5 separate regions of the Homo sapiens genome follow, and all the other regions are linked to region 5. Evidence: promoter capture Hi-C in 16 types of primary human blood cells and fetal thymus (Javierre and others, 2016). All regions are on one chromosome and are shown on one strand. The core of a region is centred on a gene start or on the middle of the fragment in contact, and the rest is flanking DNA. Distances in the headings are between cores, read along the strand shown.

What was found. The method cuts DNA at HindIII sites, captures the fragments that hold promoters and counts their contacts. A CHiCAGO score of 5 or more calls a contact.
Region 1: a contact is called between a fragment that was not itself captured here and the fragment with the promoter of HTR3A in region 5, in 12 of 17 cell types (total B cells, total CD8 T cells, naive B cells and 9 more). The highest score is 9.6, in total B cells.
Region 2: a contact is called between a fragment that was not itself captured here and the fragment with the promoter of HTR3A in region 5, in 12 of 17 cell types (naive CD4 T cells, naive CD8 T cells, M1 macrophages and 9 more). The highest score is 7.6, in naive CD4 T cells.
Region 3: a contact is called between a fragment that was not itself captured here and the fragment with the promoter of HTR3A in region 5, in 7 of 17 cell types (fetal thymus, total CD8 T cells, monocytes and 4 more). The highest score is 8.3, in fetal thymus.
Region 4: a contact is called between a fragment that was not itself captured here and the fragment with the promoter of HTR3A in region 5, in 6 of 17 cell types (monocytes, total CD8 T cells, erythroblasts and 3 more). The highest score is 6.6, in monocytes.

The regions. Positions count from the first base shown.
Region 1 is chr11:114,267,472-114,271,671 of GRCh38, forward strand. It overlaps a transcript of NNMT not described here. Among named protein-coding and RNA genes, the nearest start is that of NNMT, 27 kb to the right of the region's middle. The HindIII fragment of the contact is 1,218 bases long and covers 986-2,203 here.
Region 2 is chr11:114,236,371-114,240,705 of GRCh38, forward strand. All of the region lies in intron 4 of ZBTB16 (zinc finger and BTB domain containing 16), which reads left to right. Among named protein-coding and RNA genes, the nearest start is that of NNMT, 58 kb to the right of the region's middle. RefSeq lists an enhancer at 4,085-4,335. The HindIII fragment of the contact is 4,626 bases long and covers 1-4,071 here.
Region 3 is chr11:114,304,384-114,308,732 of GRCh38, forward strand. The region is part of intron 2 of NNMT (nicotinamide N-methyltransferase); the gene reads left to right. Among named protein-coding and RNA genes, the nearest start is that of NNMT, 10 kb to the left of the region's middle. The HindIII fragment of the contact is 196 bases long and covers 2,434-2,629 here.
Region 4 is chr11:114,288,098-114,292,212 of GRCh38, forward strand. It overlaps a transcript of NNMT not described here. Among named protein-coding and RNA genes, the nearest start is that of NNMT, 6.2 kb to the right of the region's middle. The HindIII fragment of the contact is 2,333 bases long and covers 336-2,668 here.
Region 5 is chr11:113,972,567-113,977,210 of GRCh38, forward strand. It overlaps HTR3A (5-hydroxytryptamine receptor 3A), which reads left to right and starts at 2,542. Exons shown (of 9, transcript NM_000869.6): 1 at 2,542-2,826. The coding sequence starts at 2,760. RefSeq lists enhancers at 2,105-2,766, 2,767-3,426. The HindIII fragment of the contact is 9,568 bases long and covers 1-4,644 here.

The sequences.
Region 1 (4,200 bases), core at 345-2,844, 290 kb after region 5:
TGCCAATACCTACATAATACTCATTGTATGCCAGCCACCGTATTAGTTCGTTGTTAAAAATATTTTAATATTTTTAATGAATTACATATATTTCTAATATACATAAAAATAGAATAATATGATCAACCCCACATAATGCCCGTCACCCAGATTCAACATCATCCAGATTCTGCCACACTTGCTTCACCTATTCTTCTGTCTTTTGTTCCTTTTCTGTCTTTCGTTTCTTTTTCCTGTCTTTTGTTTCTGCTGAAATATTTTAAAGAAAATCCCAGACATCGTGTTGTTTCACCACGACATACTCCAATTCATGCATTTTTCAAAATGAATTTTTCTCATTTAACCTCAGTGCCATTTATATCTTTCCAAAATTAGGAATGGTTCCTCCGTATCCTCACTCAGTCTGTATTCAGATTTTCCTGATTGCTTCAAAAATAACTTTTTAAAGTTGATTTATTTGAATTAAGAGCCAAATCATACCCACATACTGCATCGATTTGTTATTTCTCTTAAGTTTCATTTTCCCCATGCTGTTAACTTGTTGTAGAAAGCGGTGATTATTATTATCTATTCAGTTATGAGATGATGAGGGCCTGAAATGGGGCTGGGTAGTAGGAGTAAAAGGAGGAAACGATCTGAAGAGACCTTATGGAGCAGAGTCATCTGGTTAACCCAGCTTTAGGCCAGTGGAGTGGCGACATCGCTGACCTTTCTGAGACACCTGGGAGCTACAAGATCAACAGTGACCTTGTTTCCTCTTACAGGGTCCCTAGTGTGACAACTGAAGGGAACTTCACAGATGAGCTAATTGTACCTTTTGTTTTAGTCCTTTTTCCAGCCTCTCCCAGCTAGGCAGAACATCTGTACAGTCCTCCCACTTGTTCACAGAGTTCCCTCTTTATCTTGCATCCTCTGGAGCTTGTTAGGAGAGGGTCAGCCTCCATACATGGGACTTACCATGGTTCCCAAACCAGCCATGCAACCAAGCTTATGATTGCTTAAAAATATACTACAACAGACCAGGCGCGGTGGCTCACGCCTGTAATCCCAGCACTTTGGGAAGCCGAGGTGGGCGGATCACGAGGTCAGGAGATCAAGACCATCCTGGCTAACAAGGTGAAACCCTGCCTCTACTAAAATACAAAAAATTAGCTGGGCGTGGTGGCACACGCCTGTAGTCCCAGCTACTCGGGAGGCTGAGGCAGGAGAATGGCGTGAACCTGGGAGGCGCAGCTTGCAGTGAGCCGAGATCGCACCACTGCACTCCAGCCTGGACGATGGAGCGAGACTCCGTCTCAAAAAAAAAAAAAAAAAAAAAAACTGAAACAGCTGGTTCCCTGCCTTAGAGCTCCTGAATCAGAATTTGTGGGCATGCTACCTGGGAATCTGAAAGCAGCTGTGTCATAGGTTTTGTCCGGTTTTGTCCAGTTTCGTAGTTGTTTATGGTGAAAGGCAATTCCAGTAATTGTTACTCTGTCATGGCCAGAAGAAAAATTTCTGTTCTGATTTTTAAATTTGAATTAGTTCATTTAATCCTTTCACAAATTCTAAGAGGTAGATTATTATCCTTGTGTTTTCACACATTTTAAAAAAAAAAGCTGAGGCAAAACGAGACTAAATAACTTGTCCATGGACACATTGTGTAAGTGCTAGAGCCAGATTTTGAATCTAGGCCGTTTAGCTCCAGACTCTGTGCTCTTATACATCAACCTATTATCTTACATAATAGCTGCTTAATTAATGTATTTTGGATGAATGCAGTGAAGGCTTTCTCTTCTATCTTTCTTACCCATTTAACTTCTGTTCTCCTTGCCAGAAAAGTCTCAACCTTACCTTAATCCATTGTGTTCTCTTCTGCACCAAGACGTCTCAGCACACTGCAGAAAATCCAACTTCTGGGCAGACTGAGTTCCTGTCAAGTTATCTGGGCTCTCAACAATCCCTAATAATTCTGTATTTCCCTAGTTTTTGCCTTCTGTTTTCCATAGAGTTCTTGTCCGAATCTCAAACACCTGCACCTCCCTATTCATTATTTTCAGGAAAAACATCATTTTCAGCTCAGTTTTCTACTCATCCCTTATAAATTTGACTTGTTTTGGCATCTGTCCTTGCCTTTCCTCCACTGTCAAAATATTTAGTGTTTCTCTATCAGAGGCTCATCCACTTTTAGCTACTGCCCTGTCTTTCTTCCCTTTCACAGCCAAGCTTTCAGAGGTGTTGTTTGCATTTTCTGTCTGCACTTCCTCACCACCCTCTCACCTCCAGCTCACTCCATCACTGCATTCTGGCTTCTGTACTCATTACTTTATTCGTTTACTAGTGTCGACTTTTATCTTTATTAATTTTGTCATTGCATGTTATTTAAATGTACTTGTTATTCTTTTTTTAACTTCTTGGTTTAGATGCTTAATTCATGTATTAATTATCTTCTGTTATTAATATAATTAATTAAGGTCATAGATTTTCCTCTCCTTAGTGTCCTATAGATTCTTATGTGTAGAGTTTAAAAAATTCTAGAGAATTTTCAATTTTTTTGGTTTCTTCTTTGGTCCAAAAATGTTTAAGAAAAAAATTTAAAATTTCCGGGTGGTAGAGTCTTTTGTTTTTGTAATGAATATTTATTTTGTTGCAATTTGATCAGAGAATATTTTGTATTATTTCTACCTTTTGAGAATTTAAACAATTTCTTTGAGGCTTTTTATATAATCAGTTTTTGTGAATATTCCATGGGTACCTTGAAAAGAAGGTATATTTTCTATTTTTAGATTAGAGCATTCAATACGTGAATTAACTAGATTTGAATTATTAATTACATTTTAATATCTTCTATATTCTCATTTACTTAGGAACGTGTGAACAGAGGAAACCTGTGCCCTTTCCCTGGGCATAGCCTAGAAAGTGTCAAGACTCCAGACTCATCTCTATTCTCAATGTGGTGCTGGAGCAGAAGCAATGCTTTGATGGTTGTTTCACAGCCCAGAGTATCGTAAGCAGAGGGAGAGTGATTTCCCTTACTCCCGTCTGAGTGTATGAGTTTGGTAGTGTTGCCATAAAAAAAGACCACAGACTGGGCGGCTTCAACAGCAGAAATTTATTTTCTCACTGTTCTGGAGGCTGGAAGTCCAAGACCAAGGTGCCAGTAGGGTTAGTTTCTAGTGAGGTCTCTCTCCTTGGCTTGCAGATGGCCACCTTCTCACTGTGTCCTCCTATGGCCTTTTCTCTGTGTGTGTTTCCCTCTTCTGATAAGGATAGCAATCCTACTGGATTAGGGCCCTATTCTATGACTTCATATAACCCTAGTTACCTTTTTGTTTAGTTCTTTTTTTTTTTTCTCGCTTTGTTGCCCAGGCTGGAGTGCAGTGGCAGGATCTCAGCTCACTGCAACCTTTGCCTCTCAGGTTCAAGCAATTCTCCTGTCTCAGCCTCCCGAGTAGCTGGGATCAAAAGCATGCACCACCACACCCTGCTGATTTTTGTATTTTTTTAGCAGAGACAGGGTTTCACCATGTTGGCCAGGCTGGTCTTTAACTCCTAACCTCAAGTGATCCACCTGCCTCAGCCTTCCAAAGTTCTGGGATTACAGGCATGAACCACCATGCTCGGCTCCGAATGACCTTTGTAAAGGCTCTGTCTCCAAATGCAGTAGTCATATTGGGGCCAAGGGGTTCAACATATGAATTTTGGGAGTGGGCAGGGAGGCAGGCACAATTCAGTCCATAAAAGTAGAGAATGGGAATAGAAGGGAGAGGGAAATTTGTTTTAAAAGAGAGAAAGACATTGAGACTGTGTAAAGGGGATGTTGCAACCTTTTAAAATCTGTGATCTCAGACCAAATTATACAATATAATCTCAGTAGGTGCCAGTAGTAGGGAAAAGTGTCAGCCCTCGTGTCTGGCACTAAGTACCACCCACCCCAACCCCAGTGATGGGAGCCTCTAAATGACTGAGATTTAATGTCTACTACCTATTTGAATGAGGACTTGAAGAAGAAATTCAGTGCAGTTATAGAGCAGGTGCTTTTTGCACACTTATCCCCACTACATGTGTGGCTCCAGCTCAGGTCTCTCTGTGAGTTTTTGACCTGCATCTGGGTTAGATTCAATTTTTTAGCCTCAAGCCAAGCATGCTCCAAATGCAACTCCTCGTTTCTCATCATGTCATCCTCTTCACCCTCCTCTAAACCTGTTCTTCTTCCTGTGT
Region 2 (4,335 bases), core at 509-3,008, 260 kb after region 5:
GGCTGTACCTCTGGGCCAGAATTGGGATCTTTGGACTGTTTCACTGTATAATATGGCAAAACTGATCCTTCTATGGTCTGGGTTTTTGCTTCCGAGCAACAGAGCTCAGACATGGAGTGACAACGAAGGAGTCCTGTCCAGCCCACCAGACAGACACGGGGGGCCTCAGTGAGATCCGCTGCCTGTGGGTCACTTGTCATTACTGATTTCCAAGGAGAGTCTTGTTGGATGCTCTTAGTAGTGGTTTCATTTGTGGACTGTAGTCTGAACTTTCCTCATCCCTAGCCCTCTGTCTGTACCATGACTCTCCTCATACCTCCTCCTCTACCCTTTGTGATTGTCTTACAACCCCTTATTTATTTTCTAATTCAACATGCAGTTATTAAGTGCCTACTCCATATCAGGCTGTGTACTGTGTGTTGGGGAATATAAAGATGAATACAATAGTTCCTACTTTGGAGGCTTATAATCTATTAGGCAGAGCTGAAAGTCCAAAATAAATGCAATACAGGGCTTTACGTGATACAACAGAGCTCAGAGGAAGATGGTGTTGTTGGCACTGAATCCTAAGTGGTGTAACTCCTCAAAGATGCCTTCTCTAGGGTCAGCTTCCCAGAAAGTAGCAGCCCAAAGACAACAAAACAGCTTAGGCATGTGTATTGTGCAGGGCTGCCATGACTCATGATCCAGGTCGTTCACTGCACAAGGGTGCCCAGCTGAGGAGGGAAGATCCCAAAACCCTGCCCTCTCTGTACTCACCATAAATATGCAGCCAGGTCTGTGGGGCTGGCCAGAGGAGGAGACGTGATTTTCTAATTCAGATGAAGGTGTTGTTTGGCCATCATTGGCTCTGTGACCACATTATAAAGTTTTTTCGTGTGGATATCTCATTCGATGTTCTTGATAACCACAGTGGCAGATAAGGAGCAAATGGATCTGGTGAAAAGAATGACTTGCTCGGGGCCACAAGGCAAGTATGTGGGAGAGCTGGGACCCCTGTGCTGCTTTTCCTTCCCCTGTGTCATGTGGACCATCTGACTTCTGAGGGTCTCGTTTATCCAGTCAGAGCACCTCCCCTCTCCCCAGTGGTACCAGGCCTGACGTCTCTCCATAGCAGAGGACGGAACCCAGGCGTTGAAGGGAGCAGAGCGTTCCAGTGCTGCCGGGCCCCCCTGCCCCGCCGCACATCTCACTGCAGCTAATGAATTGCTAATACAATTTTCTAGATAATTTTATTTCCATAGTCCCACATTTTAATGTGTTTCCAAAAGCTAGCATTTATTTGCTTAATCTCCCAGTGTAATAGAATCTGCCCTGACTCATCATACATGCGAACAATCAGCTAGGCTGAAACGCCAGCAAATTGTTTAATAACTCACATCTAGTCTCTAGATTTTTAACTCGCATGCACCAATAGCTTTTCTTGTGTCTCATCCACATCTCCCCCACTTTTCCATTTTTTTAAAAATACTTTTCTATCATCATAGCTGTTAGTTTCTAAGCAGAAAAATGGGGAAAGTGGATGCTGAGTCTCAGAGGCTCCCCTTTCTTCCCCTGGGAGCCTTGGTTGGTGGATACGTGACCAAGGAGCACCCCTGCACCTTGTGGAATGTCCCAGGAAGGGGAGAGAGACCACTGTAGGGACATCATAGTGTTTCCTTTCCAGCTGGTGACCATATGACTTCCAGCCTGTTGGCCAGTTGTGGAACTGGCCATCTGGGATTTTTTGCGTGCCACTCCTCCCTTGCTGTCCCACCTTTCTAGGATTTTCTCTCTCCCTTTGCCCTGGCAGCCTCTGCCCTGGTCTGGTCCCTACCCTCCTCCAGTGGCCCATCAGCCCTCTCGCTGCTTCTAACCGCTTGCTGCTGCTGTTGGTCCCCATGTGTGCCCAGAGTCACTGGCTTCAAACACAGGTCAGATCGTGCTAGCACCACTCGTCTTAGTCAAGTCAGGCTGCTATAACAAACTGCCACGGACTGGGTGGCTTATACACAGCAGACATGCATTTCTCACAGCTCTGGAGGCTGGGAAGTCTGTGATTGGGGTGCCAGCATGTTCAGGTTCTGGTGAGGGTCCTCCTCCTGGTTGCAGACTGCTGATTTCTCGGTGTCCTCACGTGGTGGAAGGGGCTAGCTAGCTCTCTGGGCCCTCTTTTACAAGGACACTCATTCCATTTTAATTACCTAATTATCTCTCCCAGGCCCCACTTCCTAATACCATCACCTTAGGGGTTAGGATTTCAAAAAAGGAATCAGAGGGGGACCCAGACATTAGGATCATAGCAACCCTCGGTCCTTTCATGGCACTGCATTGCCTGTAGAATAAAGTCCAACCTGTCCTGCCTGGCATATGCAGCCCTCTGATCTGACTCCCATCACCCTCCCAGCTTGTCTCCATCCCCAGGGCCTGACCTTGGCCCCATCTGCTCTGACATTTGCCAGTGGTGTCTCTCTCCTTAGCCTGGCACATGTGTCCCAACTTCTTGTCCTTTGCTTCTCAGATACTCAACTTTTAAAAGCCTAACTCAAAATCTCAGGAGCTCTTGGAGTCGCCCTGCCTTACCCTCTGGGTGGTTGTTAACTCAGCATCTCCCACTAGTCTGGGACCCAGTTTCTCTGCTCAGCCTTAGCCTGCCCCTGGTCACCTAGCACAGTGCCTGTACTTGGTAGTGGCTCAGTGAGTTGGCTGAATGGACATGAAGTGGGTTCAGGCCACCCTGAGAAGTAGGGACAGCATAGTGGGGCAGTATCGAGGGGCCTTGGAAAGGCCAAGGGGGCAGAGTGCTGCAGTCTGCCTTGCTGGGTGTATTGACACTCAGAGCACCTGTGGGTCTGGCTGTATAGGCTGAGATGTCCTATTGGGAATGCCATTCATGTTCCCTCTGCCCAGGTTCCTTCCATGCCGGGGATCTCAGAGGATGCATAAGGAGAAGCCTTGGCTCTTAAAGGGCATGGCTGGCCTCCAAAGCCTACTCAACCCTACTGATTTAAGGTAGCTGTTTGAACACCTGGCTTAATTTGGGCTCTCTGTGGGGTGGGGGTTAAGGGCAGAGAGGGAGTAGATGCTGGGGGCTCTCAAGTTGAAGGAGTGGGGGCCACCGGGCACAGAACGCATTGCAGATGCACTGTCCTCCTGTGTACGTCGGCCAAGCAGGGAGGGACATTGAAGACTCACTGTCAACTCTTGGCATTGCTTCTGTCCAGAAAGATACATCTCTCATTATGTCTCCCTCCAGCAAGTGAAGCTGAGTAGACTACTCAGCATTTCTGAGAGACCTTGGTGGCTCCCAGTGGGATTGGAAGGCCTCAGAGAGCTATGCCTTGTGACCCAGCCCCAGCTACTGCCCACTCCTGGCCAGGGGTTCTCTAGCCATTGCTGGAGCTGTACTAGAGGCAGGAGTCCTCTGTACCATCCTTACTGGGCCTCTTCCAGGGTAAGCCCAGACAGGCGGGCAGTCAGCTCCAGAGGTAGCATTGAGTCCAGCCCCGTGGTTTCTGAAAGACAAACCGAGATATTTTCAGATCCCAACTCTGCCTCTTTCTGTGTGATCTTAGGCAAGTTATTTAATCTCTCTTTTACACTGGTAAAAAGGGGGATAAGAATGCCTGCCTTGTAGGATTGCAAGTTTTAAATGAACTGACAACATAGATAAGGTACCTAGCATAACGCCTAGATTCGCTCCCCTTCCTTCCTGCTTTTTGTTGGCCAGGAGCAAAATCCTGTGCTGGCTGTTTTTCTCCTTCCCTGCTCAGCCTTCCTGACTGCTGGTGAGATGGGGCGTGGCTCCAGGTGCTTAGACTTCAGTGTCTGCAAAGGGAAGGGATATCAGGGTGGGTGTGAGGGGCACAGAAGTGTGGGGGACAGTGAGAGGTGGGCCTTGCCTGCCTACTAGTCCATCCTAACCCAGCCATGAGTGGGACGGAGGTGGTGAGGACCAGACCTCTCACTTGCTATCTCCATTGATGGCCAGGAAGGCAGGGAGGTTCTTCGTGCCATCCCTTCTCTTCCCCCTACCTTCCACCAGACACTTCCCGATTCCATGCTGAGCAGCCCATGGCTTCCAGCAGCCAAAGCTTTACCCCCTCCCCCCACCCACTCTGGACTGGACTGACAGATGCTAGGCCTACTTACGTTTCCTGCTTGTGCCTTCCCACACAGGGGACAGCGGTGTGGGGCCAAGTGCAGGTGATATTGCCCAGGCACCAGCACAGAGACACACAGATGGGCCTGCCGGGGAGCTCCTGTGCTCAGGAAAACAGAGCCCAAAAGGGTGGGCACTGAGCTGCCAGTTAGGACTCAGACACAAGGTCAGATACTTCCTCCTGTGGTGCTGCA
Region 3 (4,349 bases), core at 1,282-3,781, 330 kb after region 5:
AACTAGCTCTTGAGACACTGTCCCCTCCCAATCACTCTGTTGGACATTGCATTTTTGGCAGTAAATTTCTGCATTCTTATCCTTATCCTTGTGCTAGATCCTGTGGCTTTAATTATTTTAAGAATGATAATGATCCTATGCAACTCATGTCTTTCCTGCATCTTCAAGTAGCTTTATCAACCTACAACCTATTTCCTTCAAGATGATTTCTTCTTTATCTGAAGTTTTTTCTTGTGCTAAAGGCTGCCAAAGACGTATGTACTGTCTCCTGTTCTTCTACCTCTGCATTTAAATACCACTCATTTTAAATTAGCTGGCCATAGTGGTGCACACCCGTATTCCCAGCTACTGGGGAGGCTGAGGAGAGAGGATCACTTGAGCTTGGGAGATCGAGGCTGCAGTGAGCTGTGGTCACATTCCAGACTGGCTGGCAGAGTGACACTCTGTCTCAAAAATAATAAAAAATAATAATAAAAATAAATAACCCTCATTTTTACAACTATCCAAAAAAGTTTTAAGAAAGTCAAACACTAAGATACAATTACTCAAGCTTATACAATGAACAGAGGAAAATGAGCTCTTTCCTTAAGAAATTGTAGAAGCTGCATTACTTAACCTATGGTTCCTGGAACTTGGAATGCATAGCTTAGGCTTGTGGTCCCTGGACTAGTAGTTTGACAACACGTGGGAGCTTTTAGAAATGCAGGCTGTCAGGCCCCACTAGCTACCTACAGAATCAGAACCTTCACTGTAAGATCTGCTAAGGGTGGTATGCACATTACAGTAGAAGAAGCACTGGTGTCTGGAGCAGGGCTTCCCTCTAGGTGTGCCAGGGCACACACACAGGTGGGTGGGAATCAGTTGCAGGCATGCTGTCCAAGCTGTTTTCCTTGGCCCTCTTGACAGCAGGTGGGGCATGGACCACCTCCTGGTTGCCTCTGTAGAGAGTGGCTCCTCCTTTTTTTTTTTTAATTTTTTATTATACTTTAAGTTCTAGGGTACATGTGCACAACGTGCAGGTTTGTTACTTATGTATACATGTGCCATGTTGGTGTGCTGCACCCATTAACTCGTCATTTACATTAGGTATATCTCCTAATGCTATCCATGCCCCCTCCCCCCACCCCACGACAGGCCCCGGTGTGTGATGTTCCCCACCCTGTATCCAAGTGTTCTCATTGTTCAATTCCCACCTATGAGTGAGAACGTGTGGTGTTTGGTTTTCTGTCCTTGAGATAGTTTGCTCAGAATGATGGTTTCCAGCTTCATCCATGTCCCTACAAAGGACATGAACTCATCATTTTTTATGGCTGCATAGTATTCCATGGTGTATATGTGCCACATTTTCTTAATCCAGTCTATCATTGTTGGACATTTGGGTTGGTTCCAAGTCTTTGCTATTGTGAATAGTGCCACAATAAACATATGTGTGCATGTGTCTTTATAGCAGCATGATTTATAATCCTTTGGGTATATACCCAGTAATGGGATGGCTGGGTCAAATGGTATTTCTAGTTCTAGATCCCTGAGGAATCACCACACTGACTTCCACAATGGTTGAACTAGTTTACAGTCCCACCAACAATGTAAAAGTGTTCCTATTTCTCCACATCCTCTCCAGCACCTGTTGTTTCCTGACTTTTTAATGATCACCATTCTAAGTGGTGTGAGATGGTGTCTCATTGTGGTTTTGATTTGCATTTCTCTGATGACCAGTGATGATGAGCATTTTTTCATGTGTCTGTTGGCTGCATAAATGTCTTCTTTTGAGAAGTGTCTGTTCATATCCTTTGCCCACTTTTTGATGGGGTTGTTTGATTTTTTCTTGTAAATTTGTTTAAGTTCTTTGTAGATTCTGGATATTAGCCCTTTGTCAGATGGGTAGATTGTAAAATTTCTCTCCCATTCTGTAGGTTGCCTGTTCACTCTGATGCTAGTTTCTTTTGCTGGCAGAAGCTCTTTAATTTAATTAGATCTCATTTGTTAATTTTGGCTTTTGTTGCTATTGCTTTTGGTGTTTTAGACATGAAGTCCTTGCCCATGCCTATGGCCTGAATGGTATTCCCTAGGTTTTCTTCTAGGGTTTTTATGGTTTTAGATCTAACATTTAAGTCTTTAATCCATCTTGAATTAATTTTTGCATAAGGTGTAAGGAAGGGATCCAGTTTCAACTTTCTACATATGGCTAGCCAGTTTTCCCAGCACCATTTATTAAATAGGGAATCCTTTCCCTATTTCTTGTTTTTGTCAGGTTTGTCAAAGATGAGATGGTTGTAGATGTGTGGTATTATTTCTGAGGGCTCTGTTCTGTTCCATTGTTCTACATTTCTGTTTTGGTACCAGTACCATGCTGTTTTGGTTACTGTAGCCTTGTAGTACAGTTTGAAGTCAGGTAGTGTGCTCCTCTTAACCTCAGCATACCTGACAGAAGAAAGCTTAGGCCCCTGTCGAGGTGGCAGTTCTCTGAGGTAAATGCTCTCTGTGCAAAGACCTCCATTTCTATTTAAAAAGATGTTTGTATGTTGTCCAAAAATAGACACAGTTGTGCCAAATGTGTTCCACAAACTAGTGAACCACTTCTATTCCAAAGCATCTCTGGACTTTCACAGCTTGCAAAAGGATATTGATAAGCTTTTTCAAAACCAGGATCTTGATGATCATGATGATTGTTTCAGTGATACCTAGGAAACATTCCCGCCTTTTACAAGGATGCCTCTCTCTTAAATAGGTGCTCTTGCCACCTTATCTCCCCAGGAAAATTCACAGGGCAGGTTAAGAAACCTTCAACTAGCTATTTCCTCAATTGTAAACATTTCTACTCACAGGTCTCAGAGCACTTCAAACTCAGTGTGTCCAAAACAGAGCTACCATCTGCTCCAGATCTGCTTTATTTCTGGTATTCTTAGCTCCTTGAATGGCACCATCATATAATAAATTGGACAAGCCAGAACCTGGAAGTCAATTTGTCCTTTCCCTCTCTGTCATGTTCCATATCTAACTTAACATCAAGCTCTGTCCATTTTACTTCCTGACTTCCTCTGTAACCCATTTCTTCCCGTGTTTACCATCACCTGGTCTCAGCTACCCCTGTCTCCCTCCTGACTGGCCTCCCACTTCCACTCTTGCCCCTCCACTCAATTCTTCTCTGTTCTGCAGCCCAAGTGACCCTCTCAAAATGTAAATCTGATCATGTCACTCTCCTCCTTAGTGCTCCCTAGTGACTCTCCAGAGCTTTTGGAATGAAAAGCAAAATTCCTGTCATGGTCCACAAAGCCCTGCCTAGTCTGGCTCTGCCAACCTATTTCCCCACAATCCAGCCACGTTGGCTCTCTCCTCCTGTGTTTCCTGCCACCACGTGGCCTTTGCACTTGCGGTTTCCTCTTACTGGAATTTCCTCCCGCCCTCCCTGCTTGCTTCAGTCTGGTTAACTCCTACGTATTTATCCTCTATATCTCTGCTTGCCCGACTCCTTTTTGGAGGAGCTTTTCCTGATCCTCTAGGTCAAGGGGAGCTCCCAACATCTCCCCATTAGTGCCATGCTCCTTTCCTTCCTTGCATTTGTCAGTTTTAATTTCCACTCCTATGAGTGATCACTGGGTTAATGCTTTCTCCCGCCACCCACCCGTCTACAATCTCCATGAGGTTAGAATCTGTTTCTCATTTGTTCATCCTTGTGTCCCCAGTGCCCAGCCTATTTCCTGAACATAGTAGAGGTTCAAAACATATTTGGAAAATACATGAATACTCACATTTTGCTTTTCAGACTTTTCCTCCTAGAATATCATTCACCTGATTCGGGTGTGGGGTGTGGTCTCTGTCAAAGATGCACTAATGATTGTTCCTTGCCCGTACAATTCTCACAGTGACCTCCACGCTTACTTAGCCTTGATTTCCTTGACCTGTTTTGATGGTTCTTTCTCAGGAGAGCCTGCAGGAACTTCTGAGGATGGGGCTTTGGGGATGTGAGGACAATGAAAAACAGCTTGTCAGGGAGATTCTGATGCACTGCCAGCCTTGCTGAGACAGGGCAGGAGGAACCGCCTCTAAATCTCAGGATAGTTCACCTGGAATGTGGGAAGACATTCTCAGAAAGGGTTCTTCCCGGGGCCCTCCTCTTCATCCTTTCTTGCCTCCCTCCCTTCCTCCCCATACCCCTCAGGCTTTTATAGATGCATATTTACAGAGGACAGGGCTACCTTTTTTTGCATATTGATTCTTTTGAAAGGGCAGACCTTTAGAACTAAAGAAATGACCACACCGCTGTTAGCTTTCTGCAAAACAGCATAGCACTTTCCCGGTGTGTGTTTATTACCTACCCCATGAGCTAAACATGAGGCAAAGTAGTAATT
Region 4 (4,115 bases), core at 252-2,751, 310 kb after region 5:
TGTTATATTGTAATAATTTACTTGTAGATTATTTTTCATTCTCTCTCTATATCATCATGTTATCTGCTAATAGTAACAGTTTTTTCTTTTTCCTCCTCAATACTTACATTTTTAACCTTTTTTTAACCTGCCGTACTGTCCAGGATGTTGAATGAAATTGGTATTTGTTAACATTTTTGTCTCTGTTCAACTTGAAAGGAAAGCTTGTAAATGGGTCATCGGGAAGAGTGATGTTTGTTGAGGTTTTTGTAGGTAATCTTTATCTGATTAAGGAAGTCTTATTCTATTTCCAGTTTGGCAAGGATTGTTTTTGTTGTGAATGGATATAGAATTTAAGCTTTTTCTTTTTTTTTTTTCTGCATCTGTTGAATGGATCAGAAGATATTTTTCCTTTAACATGTACATGTGATGATTTGTATTAATTGAATTTTGAATGTTAAATCACTTTGTATTCCTGGGAAACACTCACCTTGGCCATTGTATAGCTGCTAGAAAATTAGGCTCTTGAGTTAGATTGCCTGGGTCTAAAACTTGGCTATACCACTGTCTAGCAGCGTGACCTGGGCAATTTACTTTACATTTTTGTGCCTTGATTTTCTCATATGCTGAAATGGGGATAATAATAGCCCTTAACTCACAAAACTTCTGTAAATTTTAGTAATATGTCCAAAATGCTTAAACCAGTTCCTGAAAAATAGTAAGCACCATATACATATTTGCTACTTTATTGACCAGACAATAACTTGTTTAGGATTTTTATACTCATGCTCATGGGTGATTTTTAGCTTGTAATTTTTTTCTTCTCATAAGTAACCTTGATATTAGGCTTTAGCTAGACTTATAAAGTTAGTTGAGGGGTATTTTCTCTTTTTGTATTCTCTGAGTTTGTGTAAGATTAGAATTATTGATTACTTGAATATGTGGTAGAATTCACTGGTAAAGCCATCTGCTCTGAAGATTTTGTATGAAACTAATTTTCCATTTAAATTCTTTAATGGTTATAAGGCAATTCAGATTTTATATGTGTTATATATTTATTTGGAAACCTCTAAATTTAATGTTTCAATGTATAGGCATAAAGTTATTTGTAATATCTTGTTATTATCTTTTAAATGTCTGCAGCATCTGCCATGAGGTTCCCCTTTTTATTCCTGACACTGGGCATATGAGCCTTCTCTCTTTTTTGCCTTGATCATTCTAGCTAGAAATTTGTTAATTGTATTTATCTTTTCAGAGAACCAACTTTTGGACCTGTTGATTCTCCCATTAATTCTTAGCTTTTGTGCTCTGCAGGATTCTCTTCTTTCTACTTTTGTCTATTTTGCTGCTCCTTTCTTAACTTCCTCAGCTCATTAACTTTCAGTTTTTCTTCTTTACTAGTATGCATATTTGAGGACTAGAGTTCCCTTTAAATCCTGCCTTAGCTGCAACTCATGAGTTTTTATATGTAGTATTTTTATTACTACTCAGTTAGAAATATTTTATAATTTCCATTATGATTTCTTCTTTGACCCATAGGTTGTTTGTTTCTTTATTTCCAAACAAATAAGGGTGTTTTAGTTATCTTTTATTTTTTACTTTTAGCTTAAATGCATTGGTCAAATAGCAAGCCCTATATCATTTCAGCCCTTTGAAATATGTTGAGGCTTGCTTAATGGGCTAGTATGTAAGAATTTATTAAGGGCCTATGTATTCTTGAAACAAATGTGTGTCTTAGACCATTTGGGATGCTCTAACAAAATGCCATAAACGAGGTGGCTTGTAAACAACAGAGATTTGATTCTCATAGTTCTGGAGGCTGGGAAGTACAAGATTGAGGCACCAGCAGATTCAGTGTCTGGTGAGGGCCTGTTTCCTTCTTCGTAGATAGCACTTTCTCACCGTGTCCTCATGTGGTGAAAGGGTGAATGAGCTCTCTCGGGCCTATTTCATAAGGGCACTGATCCCATTCATGAGGCCTCTACCTTCATGACCTACCACCTCCCAAAAGACCCCACCTCCTAATACTGCTATGTTGAGCGTTAGGATTTTAACATATGAATTTGATGGGGAACAAACATTCAAATCATAGCAGTGGGTGTTTGGGTGCATTATGTTGTATATGTCCATTAAATCAAGTTGGTTAATCCTGCTGTTCATGTAATACATATTTTAACTGATGCTTTTGTCTGTTTTTAATCCTCAACCAAATATCTTCTTATTTTACGCTTTGTATTTGTCCTTAAAGAGCTGTTTCTTTTTCTCTCCATTCTTATCTTCTTTCGAATTGATAGTATTTTGTCATTCTAGTTCTTCTGCTCTACTAATTTGGAAGTTAATACACTTTGATTATATTATTTTGTGGTGTCTAAAATTGGAGTGTAAGTATTTTATTTTGGATCCCACTAAGCACCAGTGAGGGAATGGGGAAGTGAGACAGGGAAAGCAAGCAATCTGATGCAGGGGGGATTAATGTGGAAAACTAGGGCTCAGCCACTTTAATTCCATCTTTCTTATTTTTAACCACACAAGGCATTATTTTTTATGTCTATTAGAATCACCCACATGTTGGCCTTCTCAGTTAATTCTTCATTCCTTCTTGCATTTCAGACCTTCCACTGGGGTTCACATTCCTTCTGTCTGAAATTCATCATTTAGAACTTCCTTTAGAGAGGACGTACTAGTGGCAAGCTTTTAGTTTTGCCCGCTACTTTCTCTATTTTGTCCCAATTCTTCAAAGACTTTTTCTGGTTGTAGAATTCTAAGTTGACAATTGCTTTGTTTTAGCACATTTACAATATCATTCTCTTGTCTTCTAGCAAGCTTCCTAGTCCTGCAAAGTCAGCTGTTAGTGTAACTATCACTTGTGTTTTTTCTCTAGATGTTTTTAACATCTTTTGTAGTCTTTGGTGTTGCAGTTTTTTATCAGTAAAATGTCTAGGAGGGAATTGCTTTTCAAATATTTTGCTTGTGATTCACTGGACTTCTAAACATAGTCCTTCCTAGACTGTTACAATGATTAAATGAGTTAATATGTGTAAAGCACATATAGAACAGTACTTGCACAAATAAGTGCTCAATAAATACTACCTATTTTGGATTCTGTGTATTGATGTCTGTGTCAGTTCTTAATACATTCCTTCATAGCTCCAACCCACCCTTCTGTACTCTGTGGTGTGAGAGCTAGTCTATGTCTCTTAGCTTTCTCTTTTATTTTTTCCATTTCCCTTTCTCCCTCTGCTACATTTTGCACAATTTCTTTTAGCCTATCCTCCAATTGCAAATTGGACAGATTTACAAATTGGATTTTGCACACACAACTTTCCTTTGCCAGTGTCTCTATGTTGGTTCCACCAGTGAGAGATTCTGGAGGGACATGCAAGGCTTGAGGAGGAGGAAGGGACTTACCATGTCCTGTTTTTTTGTTTGTTTGGTTTTTGTTTTGTTTTGTTTCTGAGGTCTGGTTGTGGGCTTATGATCCTGTGAGCAATCTTGGCGATGGTTGTCTGCATGCAGCTGTTGGCTCAATGCACGGCTCATCTCTGCGGTGGCATTCCTTGGGTTCCTCAGGTGTCCAGCATTCCCGCAGCAGCTGTGCTTTCTCATCAGAGCTTTTTGATGCTTGGTTCTGTGGACTCGTCCTCTAAGTTTCTAAGTTTCTCCTGGTTTCCTTGTTCTGTCAGCCCAGTGAGTTTCTGCATTTGCCACCTCTGTTACACTCCAGAGTCCACCTTTACTCTCTTAGCCATTAACCACTTTTTACTTAGTCAATTCTTTATACTAAATTTTATATTAATAATTTCTGACTCAAGTTTAAGGTGGGTTTCTGTCTCCTGACTGGATTCTGATACAGTATTTATCATCAGTTCTGGAAAATTCTCTGTCTTTATCTGTTTAAATATTATTCTAGTCCATTTGATCTCTCTTATCTCTCAGAAACTCCAGTCTGACATAGAGCAGATCTTTCTCCTCTATGCTCGATGTCTCTTAGCTTTCTCTTTCACTTTTTCTATTTCTCTTTTGCCCTCTGTTACATTTTGGATAATTTTTTTTTAGCATATCTTCCTATTTACAAATCTATTCAATTACATATAACATTCTGTCAAACTCCTCTACTGCTAATATATACAAGGTAT
Region 5 (4,644 bases), core at 1,292-3,791:
GGTGCTGTCCTTTCAGAACAAGTTCAATTTCTAATGCTTCTTCCCAGCTGTCTCCAAATGGTTCAGCTCTGTGGGAGGAATGGGCCCCAGGCCATACCAGCCTAGGTGTGGAGCAAGAGGTAGGGAGGCCCTCGTGGATATACACAAACACCCCAAATACAAAATGGAGCATTGTGGTAGTGGTTAGGTTGTGTCAGGGGAGCAATTAAGTTCTATTCGCTCTTCAATGAGGAAATGATTATAATGGCAACCCCAAATGGGTTTGTTACTGCTAAAGGCCAAACCCTAGCTTATGGCTGTATGAAGGGACCCCATCAACAAATGGCATAATGCTCTATGCAGATTTCATAATGCACATAAACAGGAGGAGAAAGTCGTCTAGAAATTTTCAGATTTCTAAGTGCTAATGGCCACTTAGACGTCAGTGGGAGCTTAAATACTTTGTTGGCCAGGCACAGTGGCTCATGCCTGTAATCCCAGCACTCTGGGAGGCCGAGGCGGGCAGATTGCTTGAGCCCAGGAATTTGAGACCAGCCTGGGCAACATGGCAAAACCCTGTCTCTACTAAAAATACAAAAATTAGCCAGGCATGATAGCATGCCCCTGTAGTCTCAGCTACTTGGGAGGCTGAGGTGGAGGGATCACCTAAGCCAGGGAGATTGAGGTTGCAGTGAGCTGTGATCATGCTACTGCACTCTAGCCTGGGTGATGGAGTGAGATCCTGTTTCAAAAAAAAAAAAAAAAGAAAAAAGAATCTTTGTTGGGCTTGAAGATGCATTTAGGAATCTATAGTGTTCTGCTTGGGCCCCATTCAAGACCTCAGCCTGGTGGCCTAGGAGGCAGCCTGGTTCTTCTTGCCTTGCTTTATCCTGCTGTCAAACCTCAGGTCTGAGGACATTCATTCTGGAATTCTGGGGAGGTCTGGCTCTATAAATTCTCTAAAAGTTTGGGGCCCTCTTTCTATTCACTGCCCTCATATCCATTCCCCTGAGGGAAATGCTTGGAGCTAATTGTCCATGTTTTTCTGGATTGTGCAGTGATGAAGCACATGACTTAAGAGAAGAGTAGCCCAGGCTCCCTGAACTTGACTGCACGTTGCAGAACCACACCCCGCTAACGGCCACAGGAAAGGACCCCAATGGTGAATGGTATAATGCTTTATGCAGATTTCATAATGCACAGGAATAAGAACTGAAAGGATGCAGCCCTGACCAAGGTAGTTTCTTTCTTTTTTTCTTTCTTTTTAACTTACCTACAATTCAGAAAATTCCTCCTTACTGCAGGGTTCCTAGCCTATTCCACACTTAGAGTCAAGTGGAAAATAAATTAAAAAGGAAGAAAATGTTTTGTTGTTGATACTTAACTTGATTGGTACGGGGACATCTACCCAAATGGTGAGCTAGGGTAGGACTCCTTCAAATAAAAATGCACAGTAATTCTTCTTGCAGGCAACTTTAGGGGTACACAGCTGAGGCCTGAGGGATAGATACTTGTCTATTTAACTTGCAATGAAGAAAGAAACACTTCTTTCAAGAAAGACGCTTCCATTTAAGAGGAAGGTATTGAAAATGCTTCCGAGGCCAGGTGTGATTGCTCATGCCTCTAGTCCCTTTGGGGGACTACCAAAAATACAAAAATTAGCCAGGCATGGCTCGCATTTGTAGTCCCAGCTCTTCAAGAGGCTGAGATGGGAGGATCAGCTGAGATGGGGGAGGTTGGGGCTGCAGTGAGCAGTGATTGCGCCACTGCACTCTAGCCTGGGTGACAGAGCGAGACTCTGTCTCAAAAAAAAAAAAAAAAAGAAAGAAAGAAAAGAAAAGAAATGCTTACGAAATGATATCAAGCAAAAAAAGAGGGCACAAAATTATATGTATGTGATATTTACTTCATTGTATACACATTACTGAAGAAAATTATGGAAGAATATATACCAAAACGTTAAGAGTGGCTGTCTCTGAGTCATAAGTTTACAGATGATTTTAATTTTTCTTCATATTTTTCTACAAAGTGCATGTATTATTATTATTTTTACTATATGTATTTATTATGTATGGCAAGAATGCATGAAATAAATATGTATAGTAAAAGTTTATTTTTATTATATATTTTATTATTTTTAATATATATTTTACTATTTAAGTATAACTAATTAGATGAGGACAAAAGGGCAGACCTGTGGTGACTCCAGTTACCCTTCCCGTAACTACAGAGGTGCCCAGTCACCTGCTTGGTTATGTCACCCTGGGGAGTAAAAGAATGGTCTTCCTGCTCCTGCCTGACTCACCCTATCCTGCCCCAGCCCAGTGCCACAGAAACATACTTGCCAAGGGACATCAATGAAAGCAGCAGCGTGGTGCACCTCCCAGGGGTCAGGCTGCACCCTTGTCTCATGGGCTTCTGCAGCCCCTGTCCCCACCTAAGTTACTCCTTGGGGAAACATGGCCAAGCCCCCTGGCTGAATGGGTGGACTGAGCTCCCACAGCATGACATCAGCTAGGGCGGGCTCCCCTCTCAGCTGTCCCCTCCCCTTTCCTCCCGCCTGAAACATGATCCAGCTGAAGGACTGATTGCAGGAAAACTTGGCAGCTCCCCAACCTTGGTGGCCCAGGGAGTGTGAGGCTGCAGCCTCAGAAGGTGTGAGCAGTGGCCACGAGAGGCAGGCTGGCTGGGACATGAGGTTGGCAGAGGGCAGGCAAGCTGGCCCTTGGTGGGCCTCGTCCTGAGCACTCGGAGGCACTCCTATGCTTGGAAAGCTCGCTATGCTGCTGTGGGTCCAGCAGGCGCTGCTCGCCTTGCTCCTCCCCACACTCCTGGCACAGGGAGAAGGTAAGCAGACTTCGGGAAGCAGCAGGACTTGGCTGACCATCTGCTGAGGTGGGGCAGGGGATGCTTCAGTCCTCCGAGGGCTGTGGAGAGGAGGGTGGGGAACAGTGCAGCTGCAGGAAGGTCAGCTATCTTACCACCTATGAGCATGACAGCATTTGAGGCATCATGGTTAAGCTAGAGAGAGTTAGGAATGTTGAGTCCTGGGGTGGGGCAAGAGCGGAGCTTGCAAAGAAGGGAGCAGAGAAGTAGCCTGGCGTATCAGAAATAAAAAGACAGGCACCAGGAGGGGGCTCCTCTCCTTTTTGTCCTTTCCCTAAACTATTTGAATGAAAGCTGCAAGGGACCTTAGAACTCATTGGGTCCACCCTTGCCTGTTATAAATGGGAATGCTGTGGCCCAGAGAGTGGGGAGCGGATAATTCATTCAAGGTCACACAGCTTGTTAGCAGCAGAGTGGGGACCAGAACTAGTCTAGTCCTCTTTCCTCAGCTTCACTGGTTTTGTTGCATGAGTTCGTTCTCTGGGCCTGCGGTTCCCCAAGTTCCTTTCCAGGACTAAACTCCAGTAACGCCCAATTTCTCTCCACATTCGCTACACCCATCTTCTCCTGACTCCCTTGAATGTAGGGTGTTTTAGCCACAAAGGGACCGGCTTCCTTTTGCTGCAGACCATGTTCATTCCCCTCTAGGAGGTTTCTCTCCCTACAGAGCTGGGGTGGAGCATACTGGGGCACAATTAGAGGAAGCCATCCAGGGGTTGGACAGACGTGAAGAGCTCTGGGTAAGATGTCCTTCCTCCCGGGAGCGGTCGTTTGGGAGTGCTCCGTGGGTTAAGCAAACGCAAGCTGTAAGTGATGACTGTGGTCGAGGGCTTCCTTGACTGAGAAGAAACTCTGTCCCTCCTAGCAATGGTCCTTTGCCCCGGGCCTGCTGGGATGAGTTCAGTGCTCTCCAAGCTGGTCAGGATCCCAGTCAATAGGACCCAGGCTCTTGCTGGTGTAGTAAAGACGCACACGGGTCTGCGTTTGAATCTCAGTTCCTCCACTTGCAGAGCAAGGTGCTCACCTTTCTGGTGCTTGGGGATCCTTGTGTGCAAATAGCCACTCTGGTGGACTGTTCTAAAGTTAAATGAAGAATATGTTTATTGATGTTATTCCAAAGGAGACACTTAAAAAATAGTTTGTGTGTGTGTGTGTGTGTGTGTGTGTGTGTGTGTGTGTGTGTTCTCTCTGCTCTTCTCTGTCCTTCTGAGGGAAGCCAGTAGCTTATCAGGGAAAAGGGGGTGAAAGGAGGGGGAATCTGCAGGAGTGATTTGTTGTACAGGTTGCACACTAGATGAGAGAAGACACAGTCTTGTTTAGCAAAAGCCAGGCCTTGCCAGCACCTGGTTAGTGAAAGACCCTGGCTACCTGCCAGCTCCATCTCCCCTTTGCTGCCCGTATGCTGGCCCTCTAGGTTGTACTCCCTTCACCGTCCCATGAATTTTCACTTTTGCATGTCAGGCCACCCTTCTGGAAGTGCTCCTGCTGCTTCCAGTGTGAAAACTGAGCTGTGCATGAAATCTTCATAGAACAGCACCAGGGTCCAGGAGCTGGGCTGTCTCATTACTGGTTTGTCCCCATAGGCCACCTACCCCGGAAGTCGTTTGATTTCTTCTCACTCCCTCCACACCTCGCCCCAACCACCTATCTAAGCCCATCATGTTTGCCCATACAGCAACCCTAGGAGGTGGACTGGGCCAGCCCTCCACCCATAGCTTGTGTGTGCCTGGGGCAGGGTGCGAGGATCCTCTTGGGGTGGCTTTTGCAGGATGTAGAGGA